3 separate regions of the Homo sapiens genome follow, and all the other regions are linked to region 1. Evidence: promoter capture Hi-C in 16 types of primary human blood cells and fetal thymus (Javierre and others, 2016). All regions are on one chromosome and are shown on one strand. Each heading gives the region's core, a stretch centred on a gene start or on the middle of the fragment in contact. The rest is flanking DNA. Distances are from core to core; before and after follow the strand shown. Region 1 holds the start of MISFA (mitochondrial sheath formation associated). Region 2 overlaps PTPN5 (protein tyrosine phosphatase non-receptor type 5). Region 3 holds the start of LOC105376577 (a long non-coding RNA gene).

What was found. Contacts are between HindIII fragments. The CHiCAGO score rates a contact against its expected background, and 5 or more counts as called.
Region 2: a contact is called between a fragment that was not itself captured here and the fragment with the promoter of MISFA in region 1, in 2 of 17 cell types (activated CD4 T cells and naive CD4 T cells). The highest score is 6.3, in activated CD4 T cells.
Region 3: a contact is called between a fragment that was not itself captured here and the fragment with the promoter of MISFA in region 1, in 3 of 17 cell types (neutrophils, total CD8 T cells and activated CD4 T cells). The highest score is 6.6, in neutrophils.

The regions. Positions count from the first base shown.
Region 1 is chr11:18,598,457-18,601,390 of GRCh38, reverse strand. MISFA (mitochondrial sheath formation associated) reads right to left here and starts at 1,602. Exons shown (of 4, transcript NM_001355570.4): 1 at 1,394-1,602; 2 at 211-299. The coding sequence starts at 1,462. LOC112268073 (a long non-coding RNA gene) reads left to right here and starts at 1,844. Exons shown (of 4, transcript XR_002957242.2): 1 at 1,844-1,960. The HindIII fragment of the contact is 4,225 bases long and covers 1-2,231 here.
Region 2 is chr11:18,756,592-18,759,549 of GRCh38, reverse strand. All of the region lies in intron 3 of PTPN5 (protein tyrosine phosphatase non-receptor type 5), which reads left to right. Among named protein-coding and RNA genes, the nearest start is that of IGSF22, 32 kb to the right of the region's middle. The HindIII fragment of the contact is 230 bases long and covers 1,472-1,701 here.
Region 3 is chr11:18,348,034-18,350,997 of GRCh38, reverse strand. The region is part of intron 9 of GTF2H1 (general transcription factor IIH subunit 1); the gene reads right to left. It overlaps LOC105376577 (a long non-coding RNA gene), which reads right to left and starts at 1,881. Exons shown (of 2, transcript XR_007062611.1): 1 at 511-1,881; 2 at 1-403. The HindIII fragment of the contact is 1,846 bases long and covers 640-2,485 here.

The DNA of each region.
Region 1 (2,934 bases), core at 353-2,852:
GGAACAGTCTTCAAAACAACACCTATGAGACATGGTTATTAATAGACAACTTTGGCCTGCTGTCCTCAGCAGTACTCACCAAATCATTTCCCCTTCCACAGTTTATTATATTTTCCAGAGGAATAAACATTCTCCACTGAGACTTCAGGGTGCTACCAAGTACTTTGGAAAGGGAGGAATCCAACCCACCAGACCTGACCACCCACTTACTGCAGCAGATCTTCACCTAAAGCCCGCCTCCTCAGTTGTGTTTTGCTCTCCTGAACAGGCCACCTCTCCTGCCACTTCAGAGTTGGAGGCTGAATCAGAAAGAAAATTTGAGGGCAGAGATGGCTCTACTCATTGGCCCAGTGGGTAACCACTCTGTGTGGTGACCAGAAGGGCTGCTAAAAGGTCCCACCAATCCCTACCGTCCCCCTTCCTACCAATAACCACTGATCCACTTGGCCTGCAATCCGCAAGTCAAATACGGTCTCCAGCAGACCCCTTGCAAATTCCATAGTGCTTTGAAACAAGTACAGCTATATATGCAAGGGAGGGGGAAACAAAAAAAGACTTAAAAGGATGTCCTGGCCGGGCGCAGTGGCTCACGCCTGTAATCCCAGCACTTTGGGGAGCCGAGGCAGGCGGATCACGAAGTTAGGAGATCTAGACCATCCTGGCTAACACAGTGAAACCCCGTCTCTACTAAAAATACCAAAAATTAGCCAAGCATGGTGGTGGGAGCCTGTAGTCCCAGCTACTCGGGAGGCTGAGGCAGGAGAATGGCATGAACCCAGGAGGCAGAGCTTGCAGTGAGCCGAGATCGCACCACTGCATTCCAGCCTGGGCGACAGAGCAAGACTCCGTCTCCAAAAAAAAAAAAAAAAAAAAAAAAAGGATGTCCCCAGCCAGGCGTGGTGGCTCATGCCTGTAATCCCAGCACTTTGGGAGGCCGAGGTGGGTGGATCACCTGAGGTCAGGACTTTGAGACCAGCCTGACCAACATGGAGAAACCCTGTTTCTACTAAAAACACAAAATTCGCCAGGCGTGGTGGTGCATGCCTGTAATCCCAGCTGCTCAGGAGGCTGAGGCAGGAGAATCGCTTGAGCCTGAGAGGCGGAGGTTGCAGTGAGCCGAGATCGCGCCACTGCACTCCAGCCTGGGCAACAAGAGCAAAACTCCATCTCAAAAAATAATAATAATAATAAATAAAAAATAAAAAAGGATGTCCCTAGTGGGATGGGAAGTAGCCCGGTAGCCTGGGACACTAACTTTGTTCCCATCACATTCTGACTTCCAGTTAGTGGTGAGACCTCAACTATCTTTCCCATTTGGTCAGAAAACCCAGACAGGAAGATGAGCCAGCACAGGACTGACCACCAGGGATTTACAGGCAGAGCCATTACTTACCATCAACTCTGGAAACGTGCCCATGTAACACACAAGTCCAACAAAAAACATCCAGCCAAGCACAATCATGATCAAACGTAAAACAATTTCTAAGATAAAATTGCACAGTGAAAGACTATTCACCAAGATCTTGGCAAAGGAGTGCGCTCACGAAACCTTCAGTTGGTAGAGGTCTCGCATGTCTGTTCGAGTCTTTGGCTCCAAAGGATCCACAACTCCCTAGTGGAGAAGCTGAAATCTAGTAGGGCATTGTGACATCATTGACCATATGGCCCAGACTCAAAACACACCAGAGACACTGCCCCCAGACCAGCAGCTGAGCAGCAAACAGCAACACTATGAAGTAGGCATTATTGTTAACCCCATTTCACTAATCAGAAAACTAAGGCTTAGACTACAGCCTAAGTGACCCGCACTACAGCACATAGCTGATGCTCCAGATCAGGGCCAAGACTTAGGACTCAGCTGCCTCTTGGGCAGCTGGGCTCTTTACACTAGAGGCAGAGATTTGGAAAGGTGTTTTGCTGCTAGGTGTACGACATGTGAACGAAACAAACTGAATTACAGGTAAATGAGACAGATGTCTCTATTTCTGTCCCTGCAAAACCTCCTCTCCCCATGTCAAGGGGATCCTCAGCATGATGGTATATCCACATCTTCATCACCTTGGATTAGTTCCTCTCCATTGATTCTCTTTTCTTGGCCATCATGAAGCCACAGGTACCCCTGTCCTTTCCTCAAAAAAACTTCCAGATGATACTGTGGCTCCTTCCCTGTCTTATTTCTTAATTTCCTTTTATGACCAAACTTCCTAAACAAGTGGTCCATACTCAAAGCTTTTTCCAATCTACGCCTCTTCCATGCATTACATTCTGACTTCTAGCCCCACCCCACTATTAGACACCCTCTCAGAGGTCACCAAAGATATTTTTTGCTTTTCTGCTACAACATCATGGACATTTAATGTATTTTTCATCTCTACAATTTTTTTTTTTTTGAGACAGAGTCTTGCTCTGTCGCCCAGGCTGGAGTGCAGTGGTGCAATCTCAGCTCACTGCAACCTCCGCCTCCTGGGCTCAAGTGATTCTCCTGCCTCAGCCTCCCAAGTAGCTGGGATTAGAGGCACCCGCCACCACGCCTGGCTAATTTTTGTATTTTTAGTAGAGATGGTGTTTCACCATGTTGGCCAGGCTGGTCTCGAACTCCTGACCTCAGGTGATCCACCCGCCTCAGCCTCTCAAAGTCCTGGGATTACAGGCATGAGCCACCGCGCCTGGCCTGTTGTGATATTTCCTGCTTCTTTAAATGTCTTACAACTTTTGATTAGATGTTGAACATGGTAAATTTTATTGCCGAGTGCTGGATTTTGTTGTATTCAACAGTGTTAAATTTTATTCTAAGGTGCACTTAAGTTACTTGCGATCAGTTTGATTCTTCTGAGGCTTGTTTGAAGCTTTATGATAGGCCAGGAGCAGCCTTTACTCTAGGGTTAATATCCGCACTGCTGAGTTAATGACCATTTTCTCTGAGCACCTTCTCTG
Region 2 (2,958 bases), core at 337-2,836, 160 kb before region 1:
GTGTTGAGAAAAGAAGTACCATCCCAGGTGCCCACTGGTCAGCAATAGTAGAGGCTAACTATTCTCAGACACCAGGATGGAGCCCATCTAGCTAGGCCTTGGGGTGCTATGGCCAGGCAGCTGGGTTCAAATCCCAGCTCTGCTATTGACCAACAGCATGACCTGTGGTAAATTATCTAACTGCTGTGAGTTCCAAATTCCTCACTCTAGAATAAGGGTAGTAATATGATGACATCTTCACAGAGATTTTGTGAGGATTAATTGAGTTCATGGACGTAAAGTGCTTATTACAGAGTGCTCTATAAATGATAGCTAATAGTGACGGTGATGGTTGTTCCAGGATATGGAATGTGAACAGAAAAAAAACCTTTTTTTCCTTTGTGTTTTTTCTTTCTTTGTGTTCCTGTGCCTGGGGCTCGGGCGTCAGGTCCAGGCCAGTTCTACAGCAGTGGAGTGGGGTAGTGTATCTGGTGGTCCTTTCTTGACTCCCCACCACAGGTCTGAGACCTCACTGAACCAGCACAGCCACAGGCAGGAGTGTTTTATGCTTACATATTTAAGGGGCCAGGGTTGGTGGGGAGAATGATCCTCCGTTTTCCTTCACCAGGATAGAAACAGTTCTCATATTCTAGGGAGTTGCCTGGATGTGTGATGACACTTAAAGAGAGTCTTTGCAACTGAAAGAAGGAATGCATCTGGTCCAGTCCCCTGCATCTTCAAAGGTTGATGCCAATGCCCTTTTAGACAAATGGACATCCATCGTACTCCTAACATATGCAGTGACAGATGCCATTACCTTTCTCTTTGGTCTGGCTCAGGGACAAATCACCCCAGCTCTCAGGAATTCTTTATATCTGAAGAAAAAAAAAAAAAACTCATCCTTCCATTGAAGCTCATTTCTTCATTTCAGATCTCAGCATCTGTTTTGGTTGTCTGTTGCTGCCTGACGATCTCAACACTTAGTGGCTTCAAACAACAACCATTTTATTTGCTCATGACTTGGAGGGTCATGCAGGGTTTAGCTGGGTGATTCTTCCATTCCATGTGGCATCAGCTGAGGTCACTCATTCAGCTGAACACACCTCATTCTGTGCTGGGATAGAATGTCGGAGAAAGCTTTTATTATATGTCTGGCACCTCAGTGCTCCTACCTTGGGCTTCCTCACAGCATGATGGTCTCATGGTAGTTGGACTTCTTATGTGATTACCAAGAAGGAGCACTCTAAGAGGGGCAAAAAAGAAGCTTCAGATCTCTTAAGGCCCAGCTCCAGAAGTTACACAATGTCACTCCACTACATTTTGTTGATCAAAGCCAGTCACAGGGTCAGCCTAGATCCAAGGGATGGGAAGTAAATGCCACCTCTTGATAGGAGGAGTGCAGAGAATCTGTGGCCATCCTTCATCCACCAGCACATCCTCTTTATAAGCTTTCACATTCCTCCTAACACTAGCTTCATCCTCTCCTAAAGCTTCCTCCCCTTGGCCTTCATCCCATGTCTCATTCTTTTCCCCAACCTTCCACTATTTGAGCTACTGACCCTTTGTTGCTTAAATCTTCGGCTCTTTTGCTCTTCTCTTTTCTTTGGCTCTCCTCCCTGCTACTTCAAAGAGCACAGCTGTGTGCAGTCCCACCCCTAACATTTGTAAGGCTGTATATGTTATGTCTAGATAGCTAACTGTTCGAAAGCAAGCTGATAAGCTTTGAAAGGAAATATGTTGTCCTTCCACTCTGACGAATATTCATTTGTAGGGAGTTTAAAAGCCAGGTTCAAATAGAGAATTCTGAGTTCTGCACCAAAATATGGGGTCTAGGGAAAGCCAGTCTCCAGTCCACCCCTGCTCTGTCCAGCACCACAAGGACACTCATGAGCACTTGGGTAGATGGGTACCCCAGCCCACACATCTGAGCTCCAAACACACCTTCTGCAAACAGTCACCTTAGCCAGTTCTAGGAATACACACAGCACAGTGTACTCTCATGAAGCAGTCAAAAAAGAGGGCCACCAGGTCCAGGAATCAGGCTGAGGAGCATTTGACCAGGGAATCTGGGGTTTTGAATATGTGGCCTTACAGGGAGAATGTCCCTTTGGTTCCCTGGACTCCTTACCTGTGAGGAGGAGCATACCTGATGGAGGATTGGAGCAGGGCCCTTCAAAGTGTGAGATCAGGATGAGGGACATTTTCCTGGGTGTAAAGACAGTGCTGAGTGTGTCTGCCCTTGTATTGGGCATTGCCTTTCACTGATGGGCTTGGACAAACCCTGCACTGCTCCATCCCTCCCATGAGGCATTTCCACTGTGAAATGAGAAAAGCAATTTTTTTCATGGTAGTTATAAGAATTCAGTGAGACAATGGATGGGAATGGGGATTTGTAAACCATAAAGTCTTATTCACAGCTCATTTTTTTATGGTTTCTTATTGTCGGATTCAGAAGCCCTGGATGTGAATGAATTTGGACTCCGCCCTTTTTGAGCTTGGATCTTGCATGAATCACTTTACATCTCTAAACTTTGGAATTTCACACACACACATATGAAAATGATGTGTGGGACAGGTGGGGATGTTTATTAGGACCTTGGTGCTGTTTCTTTTTGTTTTGTTTTTGTTTTTTGGTTTTTTTTTTTTTTTGATGGAGTCTTGCTCTGTCACTCAGGCTGGAGTGCAGTGGCACGATCTTGGCTCACTGCAGCCTCCACCTCCCGGGTTTAAGCAATTCTCCTGCCTCAGCCTCCCGAGTAGCTGGGATTACAGGCATACGCCACCAAACCCGGCTAATTTTTTTTTTATTTTTAGTAGAGACGGGGTTTCACCGTGTTAGCCGGGGTGGTCTCGATCTCCTGACCTCATGATCCGCCCGCCTCGGCCTCCCAAAGTGCTGGGATTACAGGCGTGAGCCACCGCGCCCGGCCGGTGCTGTTTCTTTTTAATTCCAAGTGGTTAAAACCTGAAGGATGGGCT
Region 3 (2,964 bases), core at 313-2,812, 250 kb after region 1:
TTAAAATGTCATGTGTATCATACATATGCTTAATTCCTCCACGTATTTGGGTTTACTTCTGGACTCTTTTAGTAATTTTATTCATTAATTTTATTAATCTGTTACCCCCTGTGCTATTAACAACCTGCTTAAATTTTTACAGCCTTGTAATAATACAAACATATTACTTATGAAAGATACATGATCTATGTAAACATTTGTGCAAATCAGCCTTGAAATATTTCATCCTCTACAAAGCTATGAAATTCATCTGGTCAACTCTTATTGACTACCAAGACTAGAATCAGAACATTCAGGTTATTAACTATACCTCAAAAAACGTCAATCTGAAAACTTAACGTTTTAAATTGCTCCAGCTTTAAGATTCTAAATAGTCCCTTTATGGTACAGGAACAAATCTGACCTCACATGAAGTCACAAATCTGACCTCAATCTGAAAACTTAACGTTTTAAATTGCTCCAGCTTTAAGATTCTAAATAGTCCCTTTATGGTACAGGAACAAATCTGACCTCAGAGAAACACATCCTTACCTAGACTCAGCCTGACTTTTTTTTTTTTAACTACTTTCTCAACTCTATACCTTTCAGCCAACTTCAAGGATTACTGATGTCTTCATGATTTTTGACATATGTCAAGCTTATCTCTACCCCTGCTGTTGCCTTACCTATGACATGTCCCTACCCAAGCTCCCATAACAATCCAAATCCTAAACTTATGCCAAGGCCTTGTTAGGTCACCTGACTTTCACACTTAAATGAAAGCTCCATCAAGGTAGGGACTCTGTCTGCTATTAATTCTGAATCTCTCATTCTACAAGTGAGAGAATCTATAAATTGTAACCCTTTATAGAATAAACAGCAGTCAACCACTGACTTGGAAGAATAGTTAGAGCCAGCATTTACCACTGAATACTGATAGCCCCTGACTTACAATGGTTTGACTTGGAATTTTTCAACTTTATGATGGTGTCAAAGTGATTCACATTCAGTAGAGAAACCATATTTTGAGTACCCATACATTGTTTTTCACTTTCAGTATTCAATGAGTTACATGAGATATTCAACATTTTATTAGAAAATACACTTTATAGTAGGTAATGCTGCCCAACTACAGGCTAATCTAAGTGTTCGGAACACATTTAAAGTAGGATAGGCTAAACTATGGTGTTCCATACATTAGGTGTATTCAATGCATTTTTGATTTACAGTATTTGCAACTTATGAGTTTATTGGGATGTAGCCCCATTTAAGTCGAGAAGCATCTGTATTGTAAAAATTCACACAAGTAAATAAATTTCTTTTTTATTTTTTCTTTGAGATGGAGTCTTGCTCTGTCATCCAGGCTGGAGTGCAGCGACGCGATCCCAGCTCACTGCGAACTCCGCCTGCCAGGTTCAAGTGATTTTGCTGCCTCAGCCTCCCAGGTAGCTGGAATTACAGGCGCACGTCACCATGCCTGGCTAATTTCTGTATTTTTAATAGAGACAGGGTTTCACCATGCTGGCCAGGCTGATCTAGAAATTCTGACCTCAAGTGATCCACCCACCTTGGACTCCCAAAGTGCTGGGACTACAGGTGTGAGCCACGGCTCCTGGCCAAGAAATTTCTGATAACTTGTTCACCACCAAGAATCAAGGGTACTCAGCCCAACAGTATACAAAGAAAGTATCACTTAATAGATTTCTTCTCTAACTTCTCTATAACTTATTATTAGCTTTGCTTTAGTTCAAAAAAGAAATACCTCACTGGCTTTATTAATTTTATAGGTAATACATGCCTGTAAAAACATTAAGTTACTGAAATAGGCTGGCACAGTGGCTCATGCCTGTAACCCCAGCACTTTGGGAGGCTGAGATGGGCGGATCACATGAGGCCAGGAGTTCAACACCAGCCTGGCCAATATGGCAAAACTCCGTCTCTACTAAAAATACAAAAATTAGCTAGGTATGGTGGTGCACGCCTGTAATCCCAGCTACTCCGGAGGCTGAGGCAGAAGAATTGCTTGAATCCAGGAGGCAGACGTTGCAGTGAGCCGAGATTGCAGTGAGCTGAGATTGCACCACTGCACTCCAGCCTGGGTGACAGAGCAAGACTCTGTCTCAAAAAAACAAACAATAACAACAACAAAAACATTAAATTACTGAAATAAATGAAAGAAATTAAGACTTACCCATACTCTCTTTATTGAAAGATAACCGTTTAGCATATTCATTTGAAGGCCCTTTTAAAGCTCACAAACTATTTTTTTTGTGTGTAAAACTGTACTGTACAATCTGTTCAGTGAACTCTTTGATGCAATATTATCATTAATGCTTTCAAAATAATGAACAGTTGCATCAATCTCTATTGTATTAATGCAACACAGATAACAGAATCCTTGCTACTGTCTTTATTATGATACTGTAATGAATATTTCTATCTAAATCTTAGTATACATCTTTCTTAAGAAATAAATGTCCACAAGTAGAACTAAGGGTGTAAAGCTTTAAACATTTAATACACATTGCCTGACTGCTCTCTAAGAAAGCTTTATCATAATTAGGAAGGGAGGTACAAAATAGCGTGGCAAAGTTGCAGGAGAAGAATAAATACACAAGCAGCTAATTCTGTCCATCCTTCTCCACACCCTCAAATGATTTCTTCAATATTTAATGAGAAGACACTTTCAGCTCTGAAATGCTAGGTTTAACATGAGGGCCAATTCACTTTCTTTGAAAAATCATATACATGAAACTTCGGTTTTTCTGTCATATTGCCTCTGTTGAATGAAGATTTTATTCCCAGAGAACAAAATCACATATAAGAACAATCTGTATGTATGTGTACATGTGAGGAAAACAAACAAACAAACAAACAAAAAACAATAAAAATGGCTAACAGGCTAGAGTCAATGGAAAGTTGGCTGGCAAGCCAAAGCTGGGGAAATACTCTTTGTAATGCTATACACTTTAAGCCAAATGCTTA